3 separate regions of the Homo sapiens genome follow, and all the other regions are linked to region 2. The links are contacts of gene promoters, found by promoter capture Hi-C in human tissues and cell types (Jung and others, 2019). All regions are on one chromosome and are shown on one strand. The core of a region is centred on a gene start or on the middle of the fragment in contact, and the rest is flanking DNA. Distances in the headings are between cores, read along the strand shown.

Region 1 (4,902 bases), core at 446-2,945, 930 kb before region 2:
AAACGAGTTTTGGGGATATGTGAAGGAGACAGGGGCAGAGAGAGAGGGTGGGCATCTGCGAACTGGGAAGATTGATGAGGTTGCATGGTTCATAAATAGGAAAGTGGTAACATTCATGATTATTTAAAAATTTCCGTGAAATACTACAGTAAAGGTACAGAAAAGCATATAAAGTAAAAGTGCAGTTTAAGGGATGGCTGCCAAAGGGCACCATTGCAGGAAGGAACAGGCCTGGCACCCCCAAATCCCCCAGGGGCCCTGCTGTGGTCACAGCCCTCTCACCCCCAGCTGTATCCACCATTCTGACACTTAGAGTAAGCACCTTCTTGCCCTTCTGTCAATTATTTACTACTTAATGATGCTTCCCTAAAGAATGCAGTTTAATTTTGCCTGTTTTGGAATTTTTGTGAATGGCTAGATTCCATCCTGTGAATATGAGCACACTGTTTCTCCATCCTGCTCTCCGTGGGTATTCAGTGCCATGCAGTCCAAGCGGTGATGAAGAATGCCATGCACACTCCTACCCAGGTTTCCTGGTGTTCATTACTACACATTTCAGGAGCACGTTTTGTATCGGCAACTTGGTGAAGACTGATGTCCTTTTGAGTTTTCGGAGGAAGTGCTGGTTCTCCTGCCCTTCTTCAGGGCTGTCCTCCGAGACTGCAGAGAACTAGTGACCACCCTGCTGGCTGCGGAGCTCCTGTCAGTCAGAACTCCTGTTTATTCTCCGCCCGGAACAGGGCCTTGCACCCATATGCAGACAGCCGATGCCACGGGGTGAAGGAATGCTCCGGGAAATCTGGGAAAAGGCGACCAGGCACTTTAGATTGTGGGTCAACCTCTGCCTTCTAATCCTCCATCACTTAGGGGAGAAAGGAGGTAGCCACAGGCTGGCTTTTCCAGGAAAGCCTCCGAAAACCAGACGGACCCAGAGGGACCGGACAGAAACGCTCGGAGGTGCACGACGGTCCGAGCAGGCCCCTGACTGCTGGAATGGGCGTGTCCGCTGATCTGATCCCTGATACCAGCTACAGTTTACTAAAAACTTCTTAGATTTTCTCAGTGCTTTAAACGGATTATCTGGGTTCTGGGGCCGCGCCGGGAGGTGGCGGTGTGGTCCTGCGCGAGCGGCCGGCCGCGTTCAAGTTCAAGCTCCGGGCTGGGAGGGAGCTTCCCGACCTCCGTGTTTCTGTAGTAACTTAAAGAGCCAGGCTGGGGGCCGAGGGGCTGAGGGTGGGAGGGTTCTGCGCCCCCCACCGGGGGGCGGCGGGGAAAGCGGGGGCGCGTGGCCTCCCCTCCGGCTCCGGCGGCACAGCCGGGGGGCCCGGCTCCTCCCCGTCGGGAAGACGCGGCTTCTCTGGGTGGCAGTGAAGGGTCCCCGGGGCCGCGCCCGCCCCCGCGCCACACGGGCCGCGCCGCCCTCGGCCCTCGTCCCCGCTCCCGCCCGCGGTTCCCACCGCCCGGCGAGGTCTCCGGGCCCCTCCCCGGGTCCCCGCCCCAGGCCCCGCCAGACCCGGCGCCGCCGCCGCCGCCGCCGCGGACCCCGCCCGCGCGCCCAGCCCCGCTCCCCCCGCGAGCGCGCTCCCGCCGCCGGCCTCGCCTCCCCTCCCCCTCCCTCCTCCTTCCTCCCCCGCCCCTCCCGCTCCCGCTCCCGCCGCCGCCTCCGCCCGCCGCCCCGGCCGCGTCGGGTAAACCTGTTTGGCGAGGCGGCCGCGCCGGGGCGGATCGTGCGGCCGGCGGCTCCCTCGCGGCTCGCGGCGTCGGGGCCCGTGGCGCGCGCGCGGCCGCCCCTCGGCCCCGGAGCCCCTCGGCGGCGCCACCATGTACTCGGGAGCCGGCCCCGGTGAGTCCTGGCGCTCGGGGCGCCCGCCCGGCCGTTCGCGCGCTCCTGCCCGTGGTTGGCGGGCCCGGCGCGGGCGGCAGGGGCCGGGGATCGGGGGGCCGCGGGGTCGGGGCGGCGGGGGCCGGGGGCGGGCGAGCCGGGGCCGCGCTTGGGGGCTCGAGGAGCGGCGGCGGCGGGGCCGAGCCGGCCGTTTTCTCGGCCCCGCGTTGGACGCGCAGCCCCGGCCTCCTCGGCCCCCGCGAGTCGTCGGGGCGCCCCGCGCGGCCTGGGCCCCTCCCGCGCCTCGGGCCCGCGTCCCAGCGTCCTCGCATCCCCCGCCCGGGGCCCGCGGGCTGGGGCCGGGGCCGAGGCGGCCGCCGCGTGTAGGCCCGAGGCCCGGAGCGCCCCGCTTGGCCCGGCCTCGCTGCCCGGGCGGGGATGGGGGCGCCGCAGCCCGGCCCGGCCTGACCCTGAGCGCCTGAGCGGGTGGAGGCCGGGTCGGGGCGCCCGGCTCGGGGCGCGCACGGGCGGGAGGGGAGGGGGCTGCGCCGGTCCCGACCCCAGCCGCGGTGAGTCTGTGGCGCGCTCCGTTGTGGCCCTTCTTGTTGCCGGCACTTCTTCGGCCCCTTTTCCCAAGGAAAGTCTGGAAATGCTGAATTTTGGCCAATTCCTGTAGTTAGGGCTGTCGCCTGGAAAGGGGAGGACGCGGCTCCCCGGAACCCTCAAACTGCGTGCGCGGCTCGTTCTCATTCCAGACACGCCGGCCTCCCCATTCAAGTGCTAATTCCTTTTACAATTTCCTAGGAGAGGTGAGGCGAGGTGGATTCCTGTAGCACCCCTTGTTGCTAGTCGGCCTTTCTCTGGAAAAGTTCTAAAAAACTTAAAGCGGTAACGCGTTGTTTTTCTTTTTAAATGCAGAGTAGAAGGCGGTCTCCTTGGTGGGCCAAAAAAACGGTCAGGTGTTCTCCTGCTTTTGGCGTGCTCCCACCGGGCACGTGGCTCCTGGCTCTCTCGGCCGGCCTGGCCGCTGGGACGGGGCACCGCCTGCTCCCCTTTGTCCGCTGGGCCCCAGCCGGGCCGCAGGCGGCGCAGGCCCCGCCGGGCTCTGGGCTTATGTTTACCCGGCCGGGCGAGGAGGCTCGCATTCCCGATGCTGCCCTCGTTGCTGCAGACCGGCCCCAAATTGTGGGGTCCGGAAGGCCCCCTGGCCCACCTTGGTCCGTTGATGGTGGCCCCCACTGCTGGAGCTGTTGGCTCTGTGCCTTGCGAATGTCGCGTCTTTTTTCTGATGTCATTTAGAAAGCTTCAACAAGGCGGAGTCTGACCAACTTTTCAACCCCTGAGGGCCATCAGCAGTTTGAAGAATGATTTTCCCCCTCCACCTGGGAGGGGCCGCAGTCCTGGAGCAGGTGCTGGCCTCTAGAGGCCTTGGGTGGCCAGGCCCCCTCTTGGGAAAGGACCGGGCATCCCCTTGTGAGTTGGGACCTTCCAGCTCCTCTTTGTAGAGGAACCCAGCTTATGGGACTGACAGCACTACATTTTTTCAGGTTATCGGTTTTAAAAGTTGGAGGCCCAGAAAAAGTGAAGAGGCTTTAAGGAAGGTCAAGCTTTCTGTGTTGTGTTTTGCGTGTTACTTAATTCACTCCACTTGCTGAGGTTGGTGGTGTTTGTGAAGACAGACAGCCGAGGCTCACAGAGGTTGAGAACTTCACCAAGGTCACACAGCAGTGAGTGAGTATCAGGACAATCGGTCCGACTTCCGAGCTGGTTCTCTGGGTGCCTTCCTCAGGGCAGTCCCTTTCAAGCCCTATAACCCAGACCCACAGTAAGAAGTCTCTGTTAGGGCTGGACTGGACCAGCACCTGCCCGCATACTTGTCATTGACAGCGGGGCTTCAGGAAGCCACCCCAGCTCACTGCTGTACTGTGTGCACTGCCCCGGGATGCTGTCTTGTCGATTTCATTTTTCAGCGTACCTTGGCCCTCATGATCCACAGGCTCGTTTCTGTCACTCGCTGCTTTTTGGAGATTGTTGCCTTGGTGTGGGCCTGGTAGGGAGTGGACCCTCTGGAACAGGACAGTGGTTGAAAGAATAAATGTGTCTGCAGGATAATTCATAGCTAATGGCAGGATGGGAATGAACCCAAGTTTCAGGTTGTACAAACGTGCTGTAATTATAAGTCTGTGGTGCAGTTCCATTTTATGCTACACATTAAGGCTTTTAATTTTGTGTAAAAGGAATTTTTGGAATAGTCTTCATTGAGACTCTTTTTAATCTTATACTTTCTAATTTAGAATTATAAGACATTCAATTTGAATTATAGAAAAATTACATTGGGAGGCCAAGGCGGGCGGATCACGAGGTCAAGAGATCGAGACCATCCTGGCCAACATCATGAAACCCCGTCTCTACTAAAAATACAAAAATTAGCTGGGCGTGGTGGTGCACGCCTGTAGTCCCAGCTACTCGGGAGGCTGAGGCAGGAGAATCGCTTGAACCCTTGAGGCAGAGGTTGCAGTGAGCCAAGATTGCGCCACTGCACTCCAGCCTGGGGACAGAGTGAGACTTGGAGACTCCATCTCAAGAAAAAAAAAAAAAAGAAAAGAAAAATTACAAATAGTTTTGCTACTTCCAATTGTAACACCCTTATTAGGCAACTTACTAATTTAAAAAGCAGTTCACAATAGCTCTACATTATACCAATCACAAACAAATGCTGTGACGTATGTGAATGCTATTTAGAATCTGAAGTTAGAAATGTTACTATTTTTTCGTTTTTTGAACTGAGTTAGTTGTTTAAGATGGGTGGATTCTCCAATGACCTTGAACCTTCACTGATGAACAAATTAGTTTTTTGGTTTTTTAACCATTTAAAGGTCTTGATCTGTGTCTAGTGATTGCCTGCCCCCAGGATATTGTCTCTTATGGTTTTGCTACACTTTCAAGCTCCCGTGTGTTACACCCCTCGCAGATTTGCCACAAAGTAACCTCTGTGACATCTAAGACTTGACAGTTGTCTAAATAGGATTGTGACTTTGAGAAGAGCTGAACTTCACTGTGGTTTATAGAGCCATTTAACT
Region 2 (4,387 bases), core at 51-2,550:
CCTCCCATCCCCCGCCAAAACCCGCCGGCGGCTCCGCCCCCGCCCCCTCCCTGGCGGCTCAGGCCGCCCCTCCCGGGCTCCCTCCGCGTGCGCCCTGCGCCGCGCTGGGTCTGCAGCGGGAGCTGCCACAGCAGCCTCGCCAGCTGGCTGGGGACCAGGCGGGAGGTGGCGCGCCCTGGAGGCTGCGGGAGGGAGGGAGGGAGGGAGGCCCGGCCTCGGCGTAGCCCGGCCCCCGCTCCCCGAGGCCCTCCCGCCGGAGCGGGGCTGCCAAGCGCACACACACACACACACACACACGCACATACACACGCGCACACACACATTCGGGCTCCCAACGGCGCGCACGCACGTAGCGCCCGGGGCAGACCAGCGCGGCGGCCGCCTCCCGGGACGCCCGGACGCCGGAGGGCCCCGACCCCCGCGCGGCTCATGCGCCCGCGTCCGCCCCGCTGCTCCGCGAGGCCCGCGGGACCCCTCCCGCCGCCGCCGCCGCGCCCGCCGCCCCCGGAGGAGCGGGCTGGCCGACCGCCACCGCGCCGTCCCCCGGCCGCCCCCGAAGCCGCTCCATCGCGGTCCCTGCCGTCCTGGGGCCGCGCCCCGCTCCCGCGCCTTGGGGGTTGAGCCGAGCAAACTTCGCGCACCGGCCGACGCCCGGCGGGGACCCCGCTGCGCACCCGCGCGCCCGGGTGGGCGCTGGGCGCGCGGACCTTTGGGGAGCGGGCTGCCCCTCCCGCTGCACCTGCTCGGCCCCCTCCCCGCTTGCAGGGGACTCCAGAGACACCGCCACTTCGCAAACTTTTCCTCCCCACCACCGAGAGGGGGCGAGGAGGGGTAAAAGGGGAAGCAGGTTCCGCTGGGCGCGCGGACCTGCAGGCTCCTTGCTGGGCACCGCCACCCGCGAGCTGGACCCACAGGGGTACCGGGCCCCGCGGCCGCCCTCCGGCCGCTTTCTGGCTCCGGTTCCCGTCCCTGCGTTTCCCGCGGGAGCGGGGGGCGGGGTGCGGAGGGCAGCAAGGCCCGCGCGGTACCCAGCGGGGCCGCCCTGCATGGCCCTGCGCAGTGGGGCGGGCTGCTTCGGCCGGGTCTGGCGCAGGGTGTCGGGGTTCCCGGACGCCTGGCCCCGGCGCTCGAGCAGCCTCCTGTGCCTGTCCGCCTTCTCGGCTGAGCCCGGGCCCGCGCCGCCCCTGCCCCGCCAGCCGCCTCGCGGTGGCGGTGGCTGTGGCGGCCCCAGCGGAGGGGGCCCCCCCCAGCCTCCCCGCCCCCCGCCTCCCCGCTGCTGCTGCTGCTGCTGCCGCCGCCGCTTACAACTTGGAGGCGGCGGCGGCGGCGGCGGAGGAGGAGGCGGCGGCGGCCGCCGGGCGCTGCAGTGGGACGCGCGCGGCTGTGAGCCTGCGGGACATGCCCCCCGCGCCGGCTCCTTGCTGGCGGCCATGAAGAGGCAGAACGTGCGGACTCTGTCCCTCATCGTCTGCACCTTCACCTACCTGCTGGTGGGCGCCGCCGTGTTCGACGCCCTCGAGTCGGACCACGAGATGCGCGAGGAGGAGAAACTCAAAGCCGAGGAGATCCGGATCAAGGGGAAGTACAACATCAGCAGCGAGGACTACCGGCAGCTGGAGCTGGTGATCCTGCAGTCGGAACCGCACCGCGCCGGCGTCCAGTGGAAATTCGCCGGCTCCTTCTACTTTGCGATCACGGTCATCACCACCATAGGTAAGGGCTGGGCGCGCCGCTGGGCTCCCGCGCCCCGGGAGGAGTCCGGGGAGGCGGCTGAGCGCGCCGCGCCGGGCTGGGTGCAGGGCGTCGAGGGTTAAACGCAGCCTCCCTTGGGGGCCTTCCCGCAGCGCCCCCTCCTCTCTAGGGAGCCCCCCCTCCGCGGCGCCTCCGAGCCTCACCCTTCGGGGACCCCACCCGGTGCTCTCCACCGCGCTGGTGTCTGGGCCGGGCGTGCGAGCCCCGAGCGAGTGTGCCTGAGCCGGGAGGGCGGAGGCGCCACTTTTGCGAAGAGAGTGGAGCGCTAAGAATAATCCCATAGCAGACACCCACCCACCCACCGCCCCGGCGCGGGCTGGGCTGCGCGGGGCTCTGAGCCTTACACTTACTACCTCTCTGGGAGTTGGAGAGGGCTGGCCTGGCACCCATGGCTCCTAGAGGGACTCAGGTGGCAGGGGAGTGCGCCTGGGGCGTGAGAGGCACTGACCCTCCGTAGCCCCTGGGCCCCGCTCCAGGCTTCTCTGAGCTCAGATTTCATCTCTCTTCCCCCCGCCCGGCTCCTTTTTTCCCCTGAGTTCCAGTTCTGGAGCTTGGACTTCCCAGGCCCCTGGGAGGAGAGAGTTTGCTCTCTGGTGCTTGCGTTGGGGGTGGCAGCCCCTCAATTGCTCTCAGTAGAGGTGGAGAGTGGGGGCAGGGCAGAACCTGCCCACTCCCTAGGCTGTGACACTGGGAAAGGCCAGTCTAGACATTGCCCAGAAACCAGGGAACTTGAGCCCCAGTCACGAGAGGGGGTCCAGCTGGTAAACTGCAGGGATGCCCGCCAGCCCCACTGCCAAGGGCGCTATTCACAGAGCAGGGTCTCTGGTCGGTCCCGAGGGCAGTGTCCCCTCTAAGGCTGGGGGCTGGGAGGACTCCCGGACGTTATACTTGGAGACCTGTGGGAGCTGGGGCAGGTACCTTCATTCGGGTGGACGTGGTGGATACCCTGCATGGCAGGAGGCAGGGTGGTGTCTCTGTGGTTCACTTGCCCCAGTGAGGCAGGCTGCCTCTCTAGGGCCATCTCCTTGGACTTGCCAAGGCCAGTGTGTTAGTGGGGGTGGTCTGTTTCCTGCACCCCTCAGGGCTTCACACCCCTGTGCCCTGGGCAGGGACCTCCTCCTTCCCCCCTCCCTTCTTCCCAGCTCCTCCTGTCTCGCTTCTCTGGACCTCCTCCTCTAATTTCCCTCTTGATATTTTTCTTTGTCTGGAAATCTCTGCATACTGAAAAAAAAAGGATTTCTCAGTGCCATATGCAACAGGAAGCGCCAGCACAGGACGGCCTGTCTTTCCTTCTTGGTTGAAAATACTTTTTAGAGAGTCATCTTGTTTTAAATGTTTAATTCATTGGTGCAGGTTTTTCTGTTTGTGAAGGAAATTGTCCTTCTGTTATCTACATAATCAGCTTGGCTCTTGCTTGCCCCACGCCCTTTGCCCAGCACCCCAAACACAGATGACTCCTTCCCTTCCCACACTGTGTTTCCAGCTTCTGAGAGGGCCAGTCATTGCCATTTTCTCTGGCTTTAAACTGTGGCAGTGGCACGCAGATGCACAGGGCAGTGATTCTGGGAGACAGGGGCCTGTTTGCTGGAGAGCTGGAGAGTAAGAAATATGCCTCTGAAACTGGCCACCCCTGGGGAAAGGAGAAAGCCCCAAGGCCCTTAAACATGCCTTTAGGGTTGAAGATGGAAGACAGGTGAATTTGGCTAGCATGCTGGCTTCCAGTAGTAAAACAGGCACATAAAATGCTTGGCTGATCCCGAGAGTTGAGCGACAACATCGAGGAGAGGATTGGTGTTAAAAGCAAACTCTGAAATGTGCCAGTTTTCCTTAAGAAATGCATTGTGGAGACTGATGAAGTTCTTACTGAGGTGTGTTTCCATGGTTGATTCTGATTGGTAGCTCTGGGTGTATGCCTGTAACGGTTAAAACTCCAAAGAGAAGCTGTCAAGGGAAGTGTAGCTAAATGGAGGGTGTCGGCTTCGCCTCAGGGGCTGTGGGACTTGTATGAATAAGGGACCAGAGGCCATCTGAGGAATTCGCTGATTTTCCTCGCTTCCTTCTTTGGGCTTTCCACTGATTTTCTGGAAAGAAAGGTTGGGAAAAAAATGTGTGTGTGTGTGTGTGTGCGCGCGTGTGTGTGTGTGTGTGTGCGCGCGCGCGCGTGTGTGTGTGTGTGTGTGTGTGTATGTGTATGTGAATAAAAGACAGCTCTAACACTAACACAGCTGTCCTGTTGTGGAAAGATGTTCAACTTGGAACCCACAGACCTGGCTTGGAATCTGAATTCGGCCATAGTGTAAAGACCAGAGAGAGGTCATTTCCCAACTCCTGACCTCAGTTTCCCCACCTGCAGAAGAGATGTCTCACAATAACTACCTGACAGGCTGACTTTTAAGGTCCAGCTGAGATCCCGCGGGCTGCAGCTGCCAGGCACAGTGTGGCCGGCACTTAGTAGGAACGGAATCCACGCTCTTGGACGAAGCCTGATCGAGCCTCCGCTCTCTGCCCTAAGAAGCTGTTTAGCACAAGAGTTCAAATTTACAGGAAACAAAGCACCTTTCCAGTTAATTCTGTTTGTTTTTTTTTCTTTTTTTAATATAAATGCAAATTAAGATGCTCCTAGGCCTAGAACAAA
Region 3 (4,710 bases), core at 1,677-4,176, 860 kb after region 2:
CATTATATACCTGTGGCTTTGGGAGCCGTGAGTCCTTCATAGCAGTATCACCCAAGTAATTCATTATCTAACACACATATCCATAGAAAGGAATCATTATGACAATAGTGTGGTTAATAAAATCATAGTAATAATGAATGCCTCCTGAGCATTTACTGTGTGCCAAAGGGTTTGCACGCATTTCCTCATTTACCCTCACAGCACATGAGATGCACTCCTCTATATGTTATATGGGACACACTGTTGTACATTTTACAGTTGGAAAAACTGAGGCACAGAGAGATTGAGCCACTTGCCTGAGTTTGTGGCGGAATGAGGATTTGCACTCAGACCACCATTCAGCAAAGCCCACATTTGCCACTGTTTTGCCACATCAAGTGGCCAGTCTTGGAGCTTGGACTGTACAATGTGTATTTCTAGGTAACTGATTCAACAGAGTGAAGAACTGAAAGCCGTATTTGTCTTAAAAATCAGGCAAACTTACCCAAACCATCAAAAGTTACTCTCTTTTCCTGCCATAGGAAGGGAAAAATAGGCTGCGTTGCAATATTCAGAGCTCTTCCCCATGGACTGGCCACTCCCAGACATAGCACTTTTGCTGTCATTGCATCTACTTGGTGGCTGGAAGAGTTGAAAGAAAATTGCACTTCCTTTGCTGCCCCCAGGCCCATCCAGACCACTGTTGTCTTTCCTTTGGAGTTTTGTAGCATCTCTAATCAGCATGTCAACCTCCAGCACTGCCCTCTTCCCTCCTCTTCGTCAAGGGCTGTCTTTCTAAAACCTGGATTCCTTGGCTCCTAGAATCTAGTCCATGCTTCCTACTCTGCAGAAGAGGTTCTGACTCTTCTGTCCTAGCTTACTCATGAATCTATTGGAATGCTTGCTAGCCCCCAAAGATGCAGTACTCCCCTTAGCTGATGGTATTACCTCTGTGTGGTGTGTCCATCCCCAACTTATTCTCACAGTGAGCTCCTATTCATCCCCCAAAGCCCAACTCAACAGTCACCTCCAGGAAACTGCTTGAAGCCCCACAGGGCAATTAGTTGCTCTTTTAACATTTTATTCTATTCTGAGAACTCCAATCTGAAGGCATTATAATGATTTGCGTCCCTGTCTACCTCCCCAGCAAGCATATGAGCTGTTTGAGAGCAGGACTTGTTTATACTTGGGCTTTATTCTTTGTGTCTTAAGAGTAGAGGACCGTACCTGACACTTAGAAGGAATGTGACAAATGTTTGTGAAATGAATGGATGGATATATGAATGAATTAGTGAAAATAAGAAACATTAATCAAAGGATGAAAACATGAATGGTTGGATGGGAGGCTGGATGGAGGGATGGACAAAATGATGGATGGAAGAAGGAAGAAAGGAAAGGAGGGAGAAAGAAGAATGGAAGGAAGGAAGGCAGACAGACAAATGAACAAACAAACCTGCCTGCATCATCTGTAACTCAGCATGAATTTAAAGCTTTTCTTGTCATTCTGTAGGCTGAAGAATAGCAATTATTTTCTACTTAAGAATAATTCTGGCTGGGTGCAGTGGCTCACGCCTGTGATACTAGAGCTTTGGGAAGCCAAGGCAGGTGAATTGCTTAAGCTCAGGAGTTCAAGACCAGCCTGGGCAACATAGTGAAACCCCATCTCTACAAAAAATACACACAAAAAAATCAGCCAACTATGGTGGTGCGTGCCCCATCTCTACCAAAAAATACCCATGAAAAGATTAGCCAAAGCTGAGGTGGGTGGTTCGCTTAAGCCCAGGAGGAAGAGGTTGCAGTGAGCTGAGATCACGCCACTGCACTCCAGCCTGGGTGACAGAGCAAGACCTTTTCTTAATAATAATAATAATAACTGATTCTTGCTGGGAAGATTCAGGAGCGCGTGTGTGTGTGTGTGTGTGTGTGTACTCACACATGAAAATGCAGGACTTTGAACAGATTTCTTAGTCTACGACATATGTGGAGGATCCTTTCAAAGAGTCTGTTTGGTGACCGGGACCCTCTATTATGGGCCCTCCTGTGTCAGTCCACAGCCAGAGGAGTCCTGAAGCCTCCCCTCCCTCTTTGGAGTCTCCCTGGAAAAGAAATCACAATGTCAGCTGGGCATCCTTCAGTCTGAAGAGCAAATACTGTTTGTGCAGTTCTGAATGCACAGAGAACCTGCTTTATCTACCGTCTCCTCTAATTATAACCAGCCCCGAAAAACCGCTCCAGCCATGTTCAGGCTGAAGAGGGAGTTGTGGAGAGATGGAGCCTCAAATTTGCCAATTTAAATGCCATTGGGTAATAGGGACAGCTTCTGTATTCTGGAAAAAATGCAGTCCCCAAAAGCCTCACCTCCAGGCTTTCCCATAAATGACTCTGGCTATTTTTAGGGCATATCTGGGCTGGGTCTGGGAGCACGAGGATGAGAATAGACGCAGGAGATTGGAGGCATAGGTCTTAGATGGCCCTGCTGCTCACCAGCCAGCCAACCTTGGGTCAATCTTTTGACTTCTCTGAGCCTCAGTTTCCTCACCTATATAACAGTGGATCCTACAGAATGTCTTCAAGAGTCCCTCTCAGCTCTAAAAACCAAATGTTCTACAAATTCTAGCCAATAAAAGCGTTAGGCAACTTTTCTAGAAGTTTAGCTACTTAATGCTTAAAGCATATGTTAGGCATGTGCAGGTCTCAAATTTGGCCACAGACATCCTGGATGTCTCTCTCTTCCCACTTGGGCCCCCCATCCAGATAATCACCAAGTCCTGCCCATGATACCTTCTAAACCGCCCTCCAATTCAACTGCTTCTTCCATCCCTCCCTCCTCACCTGCCCTCATCTCACTCACCTCATCTCTGCCCTCCAGTTCCCAGCTGGAACTCTGTGTGGGAGCAGAGTGCCTTGGGCTGCGTTAAACATTGCAAATGCCCAGTGTGCATTGTACCTTTACCTACTCCTGGCTGGTCTTGCCCCTCCATGCCCTGCTGCCAGAATGACCTTGGAAAATAGAAACCAGATGGTATTTCTCCCTCACTTTAAAGCCCTCTGTGGCTCCTCATTGCCTGAAGAAAGAAACCCAAACTCGCCGATGGAGCCGACAAAAGCCCAGCCTGACCGGCACCAGCCCACCCTATTCCCAGCCAGTGTACCCTCGCCGTGGGTCCTGACATCCCACAGTAGCCCAGATGCTTGTTCATGATGGCAACCTGAGCAGCCCACGCAGCATCTAACACATAGGAGGCCCTTTATAGTGGGTCATGAATTCCTTCATTCTCTTCTTCTCTCCTTCCACAAATGACCCTCAAATGCTTGAATAGGAACAGCAAAAGCAGCAGGCATTTTAAGGATGGAGAAACAGATCAAATCATCCCTTTCCTGAAAGAGCTCTCCATCTACTGGAGGAGGCAGCCCCATAAACATAAGCTGCCTGCATCTTACCCAGACCCATGGAAACTCCAAGAGGAACTAAGGCAGCTAAGGGGGTGGGGGAGGGCAGCAGCAAAGTTCCATCCAGGTCGACCTTTGCTGGATGAGGTGAGGAGCACACAGTAGGTACCTGGCACAGCAGGTGCAGCCAGTGACCTGGGCCATCACTAAGGTCTTCTGACACCACGTGGTCCAGCGGCTTCCCTGGCTTCAGCGAGGTGCTCCCTCTATTTTTTGCATAAAACAATTGCTTTTTTTTTATCTCACAGTGCCTTGCATCACAGCCTGCTTTCCTCGGGAACATTTTTTATTCTCCTTCCCAGCCCTTATTTATTTTGGGCAATTTATCTTTTTTTTTTTTTGGTGCCCTTTGCTGCCACCTAGTTAATTCCTTGTTGTTCCAAGTTTTGTTGTATTCAACTCTTTGTTTTTGTTCACTGAAACCAATAAAAGTGGAACCAGAAAGTAGAGCATAGGCTTGCTTTTTGAAAACAAGTCTATTTCATATATTCTCTCCAATATGACTGCTGAAGGGAAAAGCAGATGAAGGTGTCCATTTTTAGTGGTGTTTGATGGTGCTGTGAAGTAGAGGATCGGCCCACTTTGCAGTTCCCGGCCCTGACTTTTCCCAGGGTAGGCACGTGTCCGCCCAGATTCTGGACCAGCTCTTAGGCTCTCCTCACTCCCCCTCATCCCTCAGTGAGTGTGTGAGGGGCTGCTGAGGCCACCTGTGAGCCTCCTCTGAGTAAGAGCCCTCACTCCCCATGAGCCTCCAGGGACCCCACCTCTGTGAGATTCCTCAGGTGGCCCTGAGAAGTGGCTGCCTATCCCCTTTGCACAGATGACAAATGGGGGCTTAAGGGGCTGAGAAATTGCCCCAAAGCCGTGGAACTGCTGAGTCTGAGAACAGGGACAGGAACCCAGGTGTGGCCGGCTGCGGTGCTCTCTTTCCCTCCACGCCACTGCTTCTGCTGCCTCAATTACACTGGCTGCTGCTTTTCTTCAGCAGCGACCCCCTCCCCCAGCTCCCACCTCAAGAACTCCCAGGTGCTGTCTGTGCCCCTCCTCAAGGTGACAACCCTGCAAGGCACGTCCTCACCCCTACATCACTGAGGAGGAGGCCACCAGGACACGTCCCACCTCTGGCCAGGGCTGGGCCAGGTTTTGAACCTAGAATGGGCTGGTCTCAAAACCTGTTCTCACCTATTCTGCCTTTCTCTGGGACAACATCTAATCCTAAGCAGACTGTACACTTTAGGCACCAGTTTCATGGAACCCTGGAACCGCAGGGCCCTCCAGGTC

Evidence for each region. Contacts are between HindIII fragments. The study calls those that stand out against the background at their distance.
Region 1: a contact is called between the fragment with the promoter of AGO2 here and the fragment with the promoter of KCNK9 in region 2, in 1 of the 25 tissues and cell types used here (stomach).
Region 3: a fragment that was not itself captured here is called in contact with the fragment with the promoter of KCNK9 in region 2 in 2 of the 25 tissues and cell types used here (dorsolateral prefrontal cortex and mesenchymal stem cells).

What each region holds. Positions count from the first base shown.
Region 1 is chr8:140,632,426-140,637,327 of GRCh38, reverse strand. AGO2 (argonaute RISC catalytic component 2) reads left to right here and starts at 1,695. Exons shown (of 19, transcript NM_012154.5): 1 at 1,695-1,843. The coding sequence starts at 1,822. ERICD (E2F1-regulated inhibitor of cell death) reads right to left here and starts at 3,093. Exons shown (of 1, transcript NR_170171.1): 1 at 1-3,093. RefSeq lists silencers at 1,131-1,530, 2,181-2,350, 2,834-2,883 and enhancers at 2,690-3,456, 3,457-4,224. The HindIII fragment of the contact is 25,430 bases long and covers 1-3,277 here.
Region 2 is chr8:139,700,036-139,704,422 of GRCh38, reverse strand. KCNK9 (potassium two pore domain channel subfamily K member 9) reads left to right here and starts at 1,300. Exons shown (of 2, transcript NM_001282534.2): 1 at 1,300-1,713. The coding sequence starts at 1,431. RefSeq lists a silencer at 1,283-1,577. The HindIII fragment of the contact is 18,854 bases long and covers 1-4,387 here.
Region 3 is chr8:138,837,731-138,842,440 of GRCh38, reverse strand. The region is part of intron 4 of COL22A1 (collagen type XXII alpha 1 chain); the gene reads left to right. Among named protein-coding and RNA genes, the nearest start is that of COL22A1, 74 kb to the left of the region's middle. The HindIII fragment of the contact is 6,501 bases long and covers 1-4,710 here.